3 separate regions of the Homo sapiens genome follow, and all the other regions are linked to region 2. The links are contacts of gene promoters, found by promoter capture Hi-C in human tissues and cell types (Jung and others, 2019). All regions are on one chromosome and are shown on one strand. The core of a region is centred on a gene start or on the middle of the fragment in contact, and the rest is flanking DNA. Distances in the headings are between cores, read along the strand shown.

Region 1 (2,700 bases), core at 70-2,569, 870 kb before region 2:
CCTGGCTTTCCTAGGAAGAGGTCCCTGCGGCCTTCTGCAGTGTATTGTGTCTCTGGGTACTTGAGATTAGGGAGTGGTGATGATTCTTAAGGCGCATGCTGCCTTCAAGCATTTGTTTAACAAAGCACATCCTGCACAGCCCTTAATCCATTTAACCCTCAGTTGACACAGCACAGGTCTCAGGAAGCACAGGGTTGGTGGTAGGGTTACAGATTAACAGCATCTCAAGGCAGAAGAATTTTTCTTAGCACAGAACAAAATGGAGTCTCTTATGTCTACTTCTTTCTACACAGACACAGTAACAATCTGATCTTTCTTTTCCCCATATATTCCCATACTCTTACATTTTTCTTTTTTTCATTAAAAAAAATTGTAGGCCGGGCGCGGTGGCTCACGCCTGTAATCCCAGCACTTTGGGAGGCGGAGGCGGGAGGATCCCTTGAGTCCGGGAGTTCGAGACCAGCCTGGACAGCATAGGGAGATTCCCCCACCTCTATAAACAAATTAAAAATTAGCTGGGTGTGGTAACGCGCGCCTGTATTCCCAACTACTTGGGAGGTCGAGGCTGCAGTGAACCGTGTTTGTGCAACTGCACTCCATCCAGCCTAGGTGACAGAGTGAGACCCTGTCAAAACATAAAGAAAAGGATGAAGGAAGGGAGGGAGGAAGGAAGGAAGGGAGGGAGGAAGGAAGGAAAGAAGGAAGGAAGGGAGGGAGGGAGGGAAGGGGAAGAAAGAGACAGAAAGAAGAGAAAGAAGAAAGAAAAGAAAGAACAGAAAAGAAAGAAAAAAGAATTCCTTTAATTTAGTGTATGGTGTTAAAACGCAACCAAACGCTCCATCCGGCGAAGAGAGAGAGAAAAGAAGAGAGGAAGGAAAGAAGGAAGGGAGGGAGGGAGGGAGGGAGAACACCTTCCTTTAATTCAGTGCATGGTGTTAAAATGCGACCAAACGCTCTATCCGGCTGCAATCTCCCCGCACGGGAGTGATTTATGCAGTAGCTGGAGGTTAGTCAGGACTCCAGGATGCACCGCAGACACCGAGGCGATGATCCTCGGACTCATTAATAGGGAGTCATTTGTGACTCAGGTGCGCTCTCTGCGTCTGCAAGTCACGTTCCCTTCGGCACGCCCATCTCGAGGATTCATCCTCTCCAACGGGTGACGAGCACCGCCTGCCGGCGGCCCGCCTCTCGGCCTCTTGGCCACGCCCCCCACCGGAGGGCAAGGCGCACGCTCCGCAATTTTTCTCCGCCCCCGTCTTCCGGCTTCTCGCGACATCCGCCCAGCGGCGGCCGGAATCTCGCGATAAAGGCTCATTGTCTCGCGGGAGCGCTGCTGGCGGTCGGGCGCTCGGGCGGCCCTGGCCGGGGAGACGAGTTGCATGTGTTGGTTCAGCTGGCGATAGCGGCGGGAGCGGAGCCGGCGGGGCCTGTGCGACCGCCTGGGTAACGACCCCAAGTGCTTCTCCCGCTCCCGAGAAGCTCGTAGAGAGTGTGGGGGAAGCTGAGATGCTGCCTGGCGGAAGGGGGCCGGGCCGGGCCTCTCCACACCCCCGCCCACAAGGGCCCCTTCTGGCGTCCCCGGGGTTGCTCCTTCGCCTCAGACCTGGTCGCCCTTGTCCCCTCAGTGCTCTTACATTCTGCGCTCGTTTTCTCTCCTCATCCTTCTTACGCTCTGGTTACCCCGCCCCCTCCCATGCCCTTTTTAGACTCCCCAGGCCCCTCTCATGGCGTTTAGTTGCCCCCACACCCTGCACCCCGGGCTTCTCCGATGACCCACCCCTTGTTCCTAGGCACTTCCAGCCTCTCTCCATTCGGCGCCTTTGTAGCCCTTCTCTCACTGCAGTTTGCATCCCTCCCAGATCACCCTCAGACCTTTTTGCTCCGTGTCTGCCGTGGGTACTCACCCCATCTTTCCTTCCCCATTGCTTCCTGTTTTTCTCTAGTGAGTCCCTCTGCCCCATCCTTCATGGTCCATTTGCTGCTTGCTTCCCTGTAGACCTGTGGAGCAAGGAGATGTTGTGCCTGGGATTGCTCATATTTTATGAATCGAATGCAGCTTGTATCCCCCACTCAACAACAGACTTGAAACAGCTTTGGGGTGGGGAGGTTTCTGTTGAGAGGAACACTGCTCTTCTGGGGTCTTGATTCTAAAATAGTGAGGGTGTGTTATTTTCCTTGCTTACAGGTTTGTGAAATGGCTGCTGACATTTCTGAATCCAGCGGGGCTGACTGCAAAGGAGACCCAAGGAACAGTGCCAAGTTAGATGCCGATTACCCACTTCGAGTCCTTTATTGTGGAGGCAAGTGTTGGTAGCCACAGAATGACTTTTACTCACTATACTTTTATGCATTGTAATAACAGTTTGACATTTGGTAAGCTTTCTTCCCCATCCTTTTCATTTGGTGAGTTTGTACTGGGGGAGAGGAGTCCTGGGGAGGAGGAGGCATGAATTAACAGAGTTTCCCCACCTGGGTGATTTGTGTCTGGCTACTCTGCCTGAAGAAGCTTACAGTCCATTTGTAACAGGATGTGCAACTAGGTTATTTCAGCCTGAAGGTCCTCAAGGTGTATGCTAGTCTAGCTGTCAAAGGAGGGCTTCTTGGAAGATTATGAGTTAAGGATGGCAAGGACTGGATGAGAAGGTGGGGAACGGCGTCCCAGACAAAGCGCACGACTATGTAAGAAAAAGCTTGATG
Region 2 (2,715 bases), core at 25-2,524:
GTAGCCAATTATCTAACTTGTATTTCTGGAAACTGAAAAGGAAAGTTTCTAGAAACCGTAAGAACAATTTAAGTTGGGATTTAGAATAGCTGACACATTTTTAGATGGGACTGAAATGAGTAAGAAAGGTTCTCCAAGATGTATGATTTTAAGTCCTTACTCCATAAATCTTCATTAAACACATCTCAGTTTTGGCCTGACTCACTGGGGTGTCAAGCAGCTACTCACCCTGCCTCAACTACGTAAGCTGCACCTTGGCAGGAAAGGGCTCACAGGTTACAGATAGAGCTTGATGAGCTCATCGCTGACTGCTGAGGGTGTCAGCACGCCCAGGTCTGTAAACAGCAGAGTGATTAAGGAAGGGGCAGTGTAGTCGACCCACGGATGCTCCTCTTTGAGGTCTTGTCCAGTCTGCGCGACCTTGAGAGTGTCTGCCTTATACTGAGGAGAGAAGTACACATTAGTCGGCACTGAATATTTAGTGCTCTGACCTGGTAGGGCCTTGGTGTGAGTGATCAGTGTGCTACTTCCTGAGACTGCTCTCTGAAAATGGGAGAAACTAAGCTATGCAGGACACTAGAGACGAGGGCAGAGTTGTGGCCATGAGCCAGATCATGGCAGTGTGCTGGCTGAGAGCTGTAGTGTAACAAACTTAAATCCCATGTCCCCTCATTCTCATGCCGGATTAACTTCTCCAGACCTCTCAAGGGAAGATCGAGAGTCACAATAGAGAGCTTGCAGCGTGCCAGGGACTGTGCTAAGATTATCTTAGAATCCTCATGACCCTGTCAGATACTGCTATGCCATTTTACAGACAAGAAAACCGGTTCAGAGGTTGAAATGAAAGGACTTGCCTCAACTCGCACAGTTTGTAAGTTGTGGTGATGGGAGCTGAGCTCAGTTAAGCCCAAAGCTGGGACTTACCCACCAGCTTCGGGCTTCCTCTCCACCCATCTATGGTGCTACTTAAAGAGACTGAAAGACTGAAGTTCTAGGGACAAATGTGTGAGTCCAATCACCAATTTATCTTTGTATTCCAAGTGTTGGGGAAAGTAGCAATAGGAAGTGAAAAAATTACTGGAACATTCTTAGGACTACAATTTCCAAAGGTTTCTGTTTAGACTTTAGTACCCCTTCAAATATGTAAAACTCTTGCCTTAAACTTATCTGGGACGTCTTGCTGGTTTAGTGGAAAGAGCCGGACAAACTTGAAACTTTCTGCAACCACATAGAAAGGTTTGTTCTGTGCTTTGGCACACACAGCCATCTGGTTGGTTCCAATCTGGGAAGGCAGAAAATGGAATGGATGAGCTCTAGAGTGCATCTGAAGTAGAAGCCACAGAAAAGCGGGCCGGGCACAGTGGTGCATGCCTGTATTCCAGCATTTTGGGAGGCCGAGGTGGGTGGATCACCTGAACCCATGAGTTTGGGACCAGCCTAGGCAACACGGTGAGACCTCGTCTCAATTACAATAAAGGAACAATTAAAAAACAGCAATAGAAAGTTATGTATATAATATAGATATACATATATCTAATACATATATTAGATATATCTAATTCTGACTTTGGAATCAAAAAAATAAATGTTTCTCAAAGGATATAGAAACAGCCACTAGAGGCTGGATGTGGTGGCTCACGCCTGTAATCCCAGCACTTTGGGAGGCCGAGGTGGGTGGATCACCTGAGGTCAGGAGTTTGAGACCAGCTGGCCAATATAGGGAAACCCCATCTCTACTAAAAATACAAAAAATTAGCTGGGCATGGTGGGATGGGGGGTGCCTGTAATCCCAGCTACTAGGGAGGCTGAAGCAGGAGACTCGCTTGAACCCGGGCACTGGAGGTTGCAGTGAGCCAAGACTGTGCCATTGCACTCCAGCCTGGACAGCAAGAGTGAAACTCCATCTCAAAAAATAAAAAAATTTAAAAAAACAAGTGTTGGCAAGGATGTAGAGAAATTGGAACCTTTGTGCTTTGCTAGTGGGAATGTAAAGTAGTGCAGCTGCTGTGGAAAATCATTAGTTTCTGAAAGTTAAATATATAGTTACCATGTGACTCAACACTCTGCCTGCAGACCTCCGCCTCCCAGGTTCAAGCGATTCTCCTGCGTCAGCCTGCCAAGTAGCTGGGATTACAGGCACCCGCCACCATGCCCAGCTAATTTTTTGTATTTTTAGTAGATATGGGGTTTCACCATGTTGGCCAGGCTGGTCTCGAACTCCTGACCTCAGATGATCTACCTGCCTCAGCCTCCCAAAGTGCTGGGATTATAGGCGTGAGCTACTACGCCCGGCCTTATGTTACATATATTTTAACTAAAAAAAGCTTTCATGAAGCTTTTCTAAATTAAATAATGGAGAGAGAGATTGTAATAAATTGAGGTCAAATGTGCTCAATTAAAATGAAAACAAATGACAGGCCGGCCACAGTGGCTCATGCCTGTAATCCTAGCACTTTGGGAAGTGGAAAGATTGCTTCAGGCTAGGAGTTCAAGACTGCAGTAAGCTATGATCACTGTACTACACTACAGCCTGGGCAACAGAGTGAATGTGTCTCTATTTTAAAATATATATAATATTTATATATAAATACACGTATTTTATACATACATACTTTATATGTAAATATATAAATAATATTTTAAAAATATTTGTGTATATATATTATGTGTGTGTATATATATGCATAAATAAAACATACATATACACATAAATAA
Region 3 (2,700 bases), core at 154-2,653, 650 kb before region 2:
ACAGAGCAAGACTCCGTCTCAAAACAAACAAACAAACAAACAAAAAACAAAAAAATTAGCTGGGCGTGGTGGCGCCTGCCGATAATCCCAGCTATTCGGGAGGCTGAGGCAGGAAAACTGCTTGAATCCGGGAGGCAGAGGTTGCAGTGAGCGGAGATCGCGCCACTGCACTCCAGCCTGGGTGAAACTCTATCTCAAAAAGTAAATAAACAAATAAATAAACTGATAGGTACAACACACTCATCTTGCAAACTGCTGCAAACGGAGAGGGGGTGAGGGTGGGGTGGGGTGCTGCATGTGCCAGGCCTGCCTGGTGGGTGGCTGGGGAGCCGACCTGCCCTGGGCCTCCTGGGGAAAAAGGGCAGTTAGGCGGGTAATGAACATTGATCTGGGGAAATGGATCCTTTCCTAGATAGCAGGGCCTCTCACTATCACTGGGCAATCAAGACGACTGTAAAACGTTAAACACCTTCTCGGGCCGGGCAGCTCTGCACGAGAAAACCCCAAATCCCACATACTTCCACCACTCCCAGAAGCCCTGTGGTGGTTAACTGGGGAACTCTGTAGGGTTCAAACGCCATATTTGCCCCTTACTGGATGTGTGACCTGCGGCGGGTCCCTGTGCCTCTCTGGGTCTCAGTTTCCTCATCTGTAAGACGGTGATATAATAGTACCTAGCTCAAAGGTTTAATGCTGGTAGATTCCTGAGCAAAGGTCCGGGGAGAGAAGAGGCTCGGTCTGCAAGAGTTGTCATTTGTTGGCTGCGGTGAGACCACGCCCCGTCGCCCTCCCACACCTGACCCCGCCCTCCCGCGTCCATTGGGAACGCCACCGGAAGTAATGCGAGACGGAGCGTTTTGGTGGAGACACTCACTGGGGCAATCTGAGGTAATCCAACAGACTGTGGCGGAGGGACCGGAAGCGCCAGGCAGGGACCCGGGGTAGATGCTAAATCCAAACTGAAACGTACAGGGCTGGATGATTGAAGCACCAGCGGGAACTAGTCGGACCTCCGAGCTCTTTAAACTGTCCTCAGCTCGGCTGGTTCTCCACGAGCTCCGGGCAGACGGCGGGGGGTGGGTCGGCGTTTAAGTCAAAGGCCTTGGGGCTCCGAGTCCCTTCCTCTCCCCGTCCTGTGAAGGCACGACCCAGTTCAGCTGTCTGTAAAGTGGAGCCATTAGTCCCTGCCTCGTAGTGGGAAAACTGGGAGGCGGAACGAGGAGGCCGCCGGTCCCAACCCGGCCCAGGAGCATCTTTCTCCGCAGACCGTTTCCTGGCGAGGTGCGTCTTCGTCCTTTTCCGCCCTTGGGAACTTAGAGCGGCCCCTTGGCCGCTGGTTCCGCGCCTCCCGCGGTTGGGGGCGTGCCCGAAGTCTCTCTACGGAAGCTGGTAGGGCTGTGGGTGCTTCACTATGGCGACGGTGGGGGCTCCGCGGCACTTCTGCCGCTGCGCCTGCTTCTGCACCGATAACTTGTACGTGGCGCGCTATGGGCTGCACGTGCGCTTCCGAGGCGAGCAGCAGCTGCGCCGGGACTACGGCCCGGTGAGTGGCCGCTGTCGTCCCTACGGAGCAGTGGGCAGAGAGGGGTAGTGGAGGAGGGAAGTTCGTCCCCAGGGTCGTTTGCTTTGCGCACGCCGCGCACCGTATCTTCAAATACAAGAATGACGGCCTCTCTCTGCCTCGGTTTTCTCACCGTAAAGGGGTAATAGTATCTCCCTGTGAGATTGTGAGGAAGGAATGAACAAGCATGTAGGGTGCTTAGGACAGGGCCGGGCTCAGCTTGCCGCCTCACAGCAACACCAGCCCGGAGCCCTGTCCTGAGCTTGACAGGGTTCCGCAGTTCATTCTCTCCATGATCCTTTGAGGTCGGGGCTCCTCTCCCCATTTTAAGCAGGGGAAACTGAGGCTTAGAGAGTGAAGGGATTTCCTCAGGTCATACAGTCATGCTCAGTGTTCTTTCTGCTCCCAGATCCTGCGCAGCCGAGGCTGTGTTAGCGCCAAGGACTTCCAGCAGCTGTTAGCAGAGGTACCAGTCCCCTGCCCCTGCACAGCTCCTCCTCGTTAGATTTGTGTCCGCAGCTTGAGGACACAGCTTGAGCCTAGCCTCAGTCCCTGATCCCTGAAGGGTCACTTAGGCCCTCACTTTCCTCCTTCCTGCCCCCCACTCATCCCTCCACACCTGAGTCTTGGCACCAGGAGAGAGAAGGGGAAATGCTAAGTTGCTAAGTTGCCTAGTCATGCCGTTCTTAACAGCTCTGTGAGATAAGCACAAGCACCACTCTCATTTTGGATTGAGAAGCTGAGGCTTAAAGAGGGATCCCTTGCCCAAGCTTTTACAGCAGGAGCAGATGTGATCCCAGCCACAGCTTCCAGGCCCCTGGGCTCCTCACACCTTACCATATACCCCGCAGGCTGCTGCCAGGGCTGCTGCCCCACTCCCTCCTCCTCCTTCCCCTGGAGTCAGTGGTGGGAAGCTTCCCAGGAGAGTCCTCAGCAACCTCTGGAACACAGGACTTGGCCATGACTGTCTCCTGTCCCTGTGTGGGCCCAGATGGTTGAGGTACATCTAGGGGTTCTCATCCCAGCTAGGCTCAGGTTGGGGCAGCCTGAAACAGGATGGGTCCCCTTCTAGAAGTCCCTTTCAGCTAACAGTCTGGAACTTGCAGTTGACCCAGATAGATTCAGGAGTGTAGGCTAGA

The links. Contacts are between HindIII fragments. The study calls those that stand out against the background at their distance.
Region 1: a contact is called between the fragment with the promoter of DENR here and a fragment that was not itself captured in region 2, in 3 of the 25 tissues and cell types used here (bladder, dorsolateral prefrontal cortex and heart left ventricle).
Region 3: the fragment with the promoter of OGFOD2 here is called in contact with a fragment that was not itself captured in region 2 in 3 of the 25 tissues and cell types used here (IMR-90 fibroblasts, dorsolateral prefrontal cortex and lymphoblastoid cells).

The regions. Positions count from the first base shown.
Region 1 is chr12:122,751,505-122,754,204 of GRCh38, forward strand. DENR (density regulated re-initiation and release factor) reads left to right here and starts at 1,320. Exons shown (of 8, transcript NM_003677.5): 1 at 1,320-1,446; 2 at 2,189-2,303. The coding sequence starts at 2,198. RefSeq lists enhancers at 1-677, 1,769-1,828 and a silencer at 1,579-1,628. The HindIII fragment of the contact is 19,306 bases long and covers 1-2,700 here.
Region 2 is chr12:123,621,480-123,624,194 of GRCh38, forward strand. It overlaps EIF2B1 (eukaryotic translation initiation factor 2B subunit alpha), which reads right to left. Exons shown (of 9, transcript NM_001414.4): 8 at 1,157-1,282; 9 at 1-441. The coding sequence ends at 277. Among named protein-coding and RNA genes, the nearest start is that of SNORA9B, 6.1 kb to the left of the region's middle. RefSeq lists an enhancer at 1-1,097. The HindIII fragment of the contact is 7,939 bases long and covers 1-2,715 here.
Region 3 is chr12:122,973,841-122,976,540 of GRCh38, forward strand. OGFOD2 (2-oxoglutarate and iron dependent oxygenase domain containing 2) reads left to right here and starts at 1,404. Exons shown (of 7, transcript NM_001304833.2): 1 at 1,404-1,543; 2 at 1,971-2,027. The coding sequence starts at 1,412. It also overlaps a transcript of ABCB9 not described here. RefSeq lists an enhancer at 849-1,308. The HindIII fragment of the contact is 12,569 bases long and covers 1-2,700 here.